Linked DNA regions of Homo sapiens: region 1 is linked to region 2. Evidence: promoter capture Hi-C in 16 types of primary human blood cells and fetal thymus (Javierre and others, 2016). All regions are on one chromosome and are shown on one strand. The core of a region is centred on a gene start or on the middle of the fragment in contact, and the rest is flanking DNA. Distances in the headings are between cores, read along the strand shown. Region 1 overlaps DOCK1 (dedicator of cytokinesis 1). Region 2 holds the start of DOCK1-AS1 (DOCK1 antisense RNA 1).

The links. The method cuts DNA at HindIII sites, captures the fragments that hold promoters and counts their contacts. A CHiCAGO score of 5 or more calls a contact.
Region 1: a fragment that was not itself captured here is called in contact with the fragment with the promoter of DOCK1-AS1 in region 2 in 1 of 17 cell types (endothelial precursors); the score reaches 5.1 in endothelial precursors.

What each region holds. Positions count from the first base shown.
Region 1 is chr10:126,908,905-126,912,247 of GRCh38, reverse strand. The region is part of intron 1 of DOCK1 (dedicator of cytokinesis 1); the gene reads right to left. LOC124900289 (a long non-coding RNA gene) reads right to left here. Exons shown (of 2, transcript XR_007062336.1): 1 at 1-3,343. Among named protein-coding and RNA genes, the nearest start is that of DOCK1, 5.1 kb to the right of the region's middle. RefSeq lists enhancers at 358-858, 859-1,359. The HindIII fragment of the contact is 1,345 bases long and covers 1,412-2,756 here.
Region 2 is chr10:127,024,886-127,028,077 of GRCh38, reverse strand. It overlaps DOCK1-AS1 (DOCK1 antisense RNA 1), which reads left to right and starts at 1,585. Exons shown (of 5, transcript NR_188215.1): 1 at 1,585-1,806. DOCK1 (dedicator of cytokinesis 1) reads right to left here. Exons shown (of 52, transcript NM_001290223.2): 16 at 1,654-1,726. The HindIII fragment of the contact is 2,518 bases long and covers 198-2,715 here.

The DNA.
Region 1 (3,343 bases), core at 835-3,334, 120 kb after region 2:
CATATTGGCCAGGCTGGTCTCTAACCCCTGACCTCAGGTGACCCGCCCACCTCAGCCTCCCAAAATGCTGGGATTACAGGTGTGAGCCACCGAGGCTGGCCATAGTGGCCTTGTAAGAAGAGGAAATGAGGACACTGACACACACCGAAGGAAGACCCTATGAAGACAGGGTGAAGACAGCTGTCTGTAACCCAAGGAGAGAGGTCTCAGAAGAAACCAACCACCAAAACACCTTGACTCCGGCATTACAGAATTGTGAAGAAACACAGTCCTGTTGGTTAAGCCACCCTGTCTTGTGGTCCTTTGTTATGGTAGCTCCAGTCAACTAACACACAAATTCCACACTGTGATTTCAACGTCAGCTCCAAAGCACTTCCCATCATATCAATAAAAGCAAATTGAGGAACAGTGGCTGATGGCAAATGCAATCCATTTGCATAACAATGTTTCCAAACTGCCTTAAGATACATTAATTAGTTCCTGTCAACTCCCATCAGCCCAACCTCAGTGAAGCAAAGCCCACAGTACCATCCAGAACATCGCTGCTTAAAAACGCAGAAACCAGGCTGGAAGAGGTTCAAACACTCACCCTGGGTCATATGCATGAACAGTGGCCTTGTCAGGGCTAAAACTCAAACTCTGACCCCTCCTCGGGCGCCTCCTCATTTCCTCCCTGAAGGCCTTCCGGATGCACTGAAGGGTTTGAAAAGTGAACATCTTGACAACCGCATCTTGACAAGCGACCACCTGGTGTTAACCGTGGTCTCCACACTGGTGCATGTGCCCGGTCAGCCTTCCACTCCATGATGTCTCTTCAAACTGGATCAAAGTCCTTCCCTGAATACACTGGACAATTTCACAGCTCAGTGGACCCGCTCATACAGCGCTCCCACCAGCACCCCCTGGGTGGGCTGCCTTCTCCTGTACCGCAGCAGCACAGGGAGCTGCACGCTGGCTCCCAAATGAAACCAAGGCAAATGCAAACTCCAACCACAATGACAGACAACTACACACCTACACAAGCAATAAGGACGGTGACAAATGATGGCAAGGATTCCGAGAAATCTACAATCACATATACACTGCTGGTGAGAATGTGAACTGGCACAGTTACTCCAGGAAAGTTTGGCAGTTTCTTAAAAAGCTAAACATCCAACTACCAGACGACTCAGCCTCTGCACTCCTGGGCATTTATCCCAGAAAATGAAGACTTAGGTTCACACTAAAACCTGTATGTGCTTGTTGACAGCAGCTGTATTTGTCACAGCCAAACTCAGATGTCCTTCGACAGGTGAACAGTTAATCTGGGGCATATCCAGACCATGAAATGATACTCAGCAAAGAAAAGAAGCAACACCCGGATGAATATCCAGAGAGAGATACTGAGTGAAAAAAGCCAATCCCGAAAGCTTACCTCCTATGCAATTTCACTAACGGAACACTCTTTAAAGGACAATATTATAAAAACACAGAACAGGCAAAGGGTGGCCAGGATTTGAGGGGAGAAAGGCGTGGAGGGAGGTAGGCGTGGTGCTTGTGGTGCTGGAAATGTTCTGTACCTTGACTATCGATGTCAATATCCCAGTCGTGATGCTGTACTACAGCTTTACAAGACGTAACCTTAGGTGAAACTAGTAATGGCTACTCATGATCTCCCTGAATTATATTTTACACCCGCATTTGGCTATAATTATCTGAAAATACAAAGTTTAATGCAATCATCTGAAAATACAAAGTACAGAGAGGAAGAAAAGAAAGAAGGGAAAAGGGAGGGAGGGAAGGAGGGTGGGAACAGCGTACAAGTGTGCGCTTGCTACAGCGATGGCCCTGGGGCGTCAGCGCCACACCCAGCAAAGGACACCACGTGGCCTATTTCTTCCTCCCCATTTCACTACCTGCATCCACAGAGGTGATAAAGAGACAGAACTATTGACACACACTAAGACAATCCTGATCAGATGTCTGGTATCCTAGGCAAACAATGGCATAGAAATAAATTTAAATTTCTTATGTTTCCAAAGTAAAATCAGGTTTGTAGAAATATAATATGCCCTGATTTGGTTTTGCTGCAATTCCAGTGAATGAAAATGCCTGCATTTCTATTTACTTATGATCAAATCTAATTTTTCTTCCCCAAAGTAGCAGCTTGCTTGCTACTCTAGATAACAAAAGAGATCTCTCATCAACTCCCACGCTCCCAAATTTATTTGGATATCACACTATTCCTAGCAATTATCATTGCTTAGAGCTAATGTGAAGGCACGCAAGTCAGGCTCCTCACACTGAGCAAATGTGACTTCTACCCCAATTAGGAAGCAAAACACACTATCAAGAAACCAACTTTTGAAGAAAGGCATTTTTCCAGCAACCCGTTAACCGCACACAGAAGTCACTTGTCACTATGTTTCTAAACTTTATGCTTTATTAAATAAAAAGTTAACAAAAGCAACGCTTCGTTGAGTACTTGGCATATCTTAAACGCAGGGCTAAATTCTCTGCCAACATCATCTCAGCGAGTCCTCACGACTCGGCAGCAAGCAGGCTTGGTTCCACTTCACAGATGAGAAAACCAAGGCTAAGAAAGTATGAGTAATTTGCTCAAGGGTCCCATTATGAGTAAGAGCAGTGCCAATGCCCCATCCCATTTGAGAGCTGCACTTGGAAGTGGCCAAAGTGAAGAGCACACTTGGGTTCACTACCTTCAATGAACTTAGTAACAGATCTCAAGGGTGCAAGAGAGCCTCACCCTGCAAGCTTCTCTCCCATCATCTGTATTAGTTTTCCACTGCTGCCGTAACAAATTCCCACAACCCAGCCAGCTTAAAACCACACAAATGTATTATCTCAGTTCCACAGGCCACACGCCCAGCAGCTCAGGGTCTCAAAATCAAGGTGTTGGCTGGCTGGGCTCTTAGCAGGAGGCCCTGGGGAGGAAATCTGTTTCCAAGCTCATTCAGGGTGTTGGCAGGATCCAATTCTTTGTAACTGCCGATCATTAGCTAGGGGCCTCCCGTAGCTCCCTGAGGCCTCTCTCTGGTCCTTGCAAGTGAGCCCCTACATCTCAGGGCCAGCAACTGTGCTTCCAAACATAGGATCTTCTGACTGCCTGTTTCACAACTTTGACAGCCAAAGTTCTCTGTGCCCACGTGGATGGTCCTGAATAATCTCCCATCTACGAATTCCAAGTAACCTGAATCACATCTGCCAAGTCCCTTTTGCCATGTAACATATTGAATTCACAGAGTCTGGGGATTAGGGCGTGGACCTTTTTGGGGACCATTATTCTGCCTTCAACACCATTGTTGAGATGTGAGTGAGTGAGCACATGGTCCTCACGTGTGAT
Region 2 (3,192 bases), core at 336-2,835:
CACCCCCCGCACTCCCCCGCCATGCACCACCCACCACCAGGCACTCCATGCTGCTTGAAACCCCTCCAGTCAGCCACATCCCAGGCCGGGCCCCACCACACACACATCTGCCATTGACAGTCATGGGCCGGCACCCCAGCTCTGCAGACCACACACCAGGCCTCTCCAACTCCCCTGAACAACAGCAGGCCCAAGCTTCTCGATGATCTGCACACCATAACATCATGACCGTGCTCGTGCATTTGCTCTCCAGGCTGCTCTCCTGCAGCCCCCCTGTCCAGGCACACCCACCCCACATGGAGGGCCCAGGGCAGGCCAGGCCCCAGAAATAGTCAGGTGAATGAACACATTATTCCAGCAGCAGCAACTACAATGGAGCCCCTATCCATACCAGGCAGCGTGCCAGAAGGTGGCCAGCCTCCACCTTGCCTGACCTTCAAGAATACCCTAGGAGGAAGGTTTAATGTTTTTTTTGTTTTGCTTTTTGTTTTTGAGACAGGGTCTCACTCTGTTCCCCAGGCTGAAGTGCAGTGGTGCAATCACAGCTCACTGCAACCTCTGCCTCCCGGGTTCAAGCAATCCTCCTGCCTCAGCCTCCTGAGCAGCTGAGACTACAGGTATACCATCACACCAGGATAACTGTTTTAGTAAAGATCGGGTCTCACTGTGTTGCCCAAGCTGGTCTCAAACTCCGGGGCTCAAGCAATCTTCCACCTTGGCTTCCCAAAGTTCTGGGATTACAGGTGTGAGCCACGGCACCAGCCAGAAAGGTATTCTTATCCTCAAATGAAGATACAGAAGAGGCTCATGCTTAAGCTCCATCCAGAGCACACAGAACCTGAAACTGCCCACTGCACGGTGTGACCCCCACGGGGTCATCAGTGACAAAGGGCGGTCTGCCCTCCACACCACTCTTTTCCTTTAACTGCCTGCGGCACACAAGCCTGTAGCCAACTCTCTTTGTCATTTATTGTCCCAAATATGAATATGTCTCAGTTCCCAATGCCAAAGAGACACACACCCTGAAAGACGGGAATCATGTTTTCCTTCTGTGATATCTTACTGTCTAGCACAGGGCTACAGCTTTAGTTGACAATTAATTTAACAAAATGTGATGGAACAAATTTCAGTCATCAATAATAAATTCTTTTTGAAGGAGAGTGATTCAAATAGCAGTTCTTTCCTCCTAAAGTCTTGGCACCATGGTCAGTATTCACAAAAATGTCTATGAGAAAAGCCATCCCTGAGCTCCAGACAGCAAGGGCCACCAAGGAAGACAAAAAGGGTTCAAGATTTCCAATTCTAAGACAGGCACCTTAAGAGCCCATGTTTGAGAGGTATTTGTTACAGCTCAGTAACTTTTCTGATGGATGGCATGGATGGATGGCAAGTCAACACGGAAGACTGGAAAGCAAAAGAAAGAAGGGGACCAGCAACACTGGGTAGGAGGAACTGGAGAAGGAAATTAAGATCTCCTCCTGAGATCTGCTCAAGGAAAAGAGAGAAGAATGTTTCCAAGGAATAGGTTCCGGTGGGAAATGAGCCTTATTGTGTTATGATAGCGAGTTCCAGAACAACTGAGAGTGGCCTCTCGCGCTTTCCCCCAGTTCTCCCTTAAAAATACTTGGGGGAAGAAAGTGCTTGACTACTCACAGTCCTGTGATGACCTGTGGCGGAAGGTAAACCGAAGGTGACTGCGGTTAACGTCCTCGATGGGAATGGCCACCTTCAAGAATTGAAAAAGAAGTTTAAGCACTGTTATCAATATCATCCAGCGTAACAGCTTTATTCAACTGGAGCTATCAGGTACAACTGTAAACATTTCTAACTGCAGTGGTGAAAATACTGTACACCTAGTCCCCTATATGATTTTTCCAAAGACAAAATGCCTCTGCAAAATTTTGTATCATATTGTAACAGCTGCCAAGCCAACTGACTCCGTGACACAGCTGAATTTTTTTTTCTGAATGCTCTGACCATTACTGTTAAGATTCTTTTTTCTTTCTTTTTTTTTTTTTGATACAGAGTTTCGCTCTTGTTGCCCAGGCTAGAGTGGTGCAATGGCTCGATCTTGGCTCACCACAACCTCCGCCTCCTGCGTTCAAGCGATTCTCCTGCCTCAGCCTCTCGAGTAGCTGGGATTACAGGCATGCGCCACCACACCCAGCTAATTTTGTGTATTTAGTAGAGAAGGTTTTTCCATGTTAGGCTGGCCTCAAACTCCTGACCTCAGATGATCTGCCCACCTCAGCCTCCCAAAGTGCTGGGATTACAAGTGTGAGCCACCACATCCGGCCAAGATTCTACTTTTAAACGTTGCTGTTTTTGGGCCGGGCATGGTGGCTCATGCCTGTAATCCCAGCAGTCTGGGAGGCCGAGGAGGGTGGATCACTTGAGGTCAGGAGTTCGAGACCAGCCTGGCCAACATGATAAAACCCCAACTCTACTAAAAATACCAAAAACATTAGCCAGGCATCATGGTACATGCCTGTAATCCCAGCTACTCAGGAAGCTGAGGCAAGAGAATCGCTTGAACCCAGGAAGTGGAGGTTGCAGTGAGCCGAGATTGCACCACTGCACTCCAGTCTGGGTGACAGAATGAGACTCCGTCTCAAAAAAAGAAAAGTTGCCGTTTTTCTTCTTAGCCCCAACCTGGAAGGGTCTATATTCCTTCCACAGCTGTGGTGACCTGCCCACAGCTGCGCCAAAAAAGCTTTCCTGTTGTCACATTACACTCAAAGAAAAAAGACCTAATACATGCTGCCTCTAAGCAAAAATTGTCCCTAATTCTCACATCAAACATCTGTATTCCAGAGCCAACCCCTGGCCTGGTTTTCAAATATTCAAGCTCTTGGCGGTGAGACGGTGTTTACTCCATCGTGGAGATGTGAGCACGCTGCATTATGAAAAGGCACCATATCAGAGCTACAGAACAGGATCCCACTCCCCAGCAATGACCTCCACAGGCTGGCAGCTCGGTTTTTTTGTTTGGTGTAAAGACAGCATGCCACACATAAAACAGTACTGGGAAGAGAAAGACAATAGCTATCTTAAAAAGACTCTGTCATTTGTCTCCATGAACGTCCTATTTTTACGTCCAAAAGGAGATGAGAGTAAATGTATTCTAAGAAACACCAGTGTGGTTCCTTAGCAACCTTGAATGACTTTGTTGGGAGACACTCTGCCTGCCTG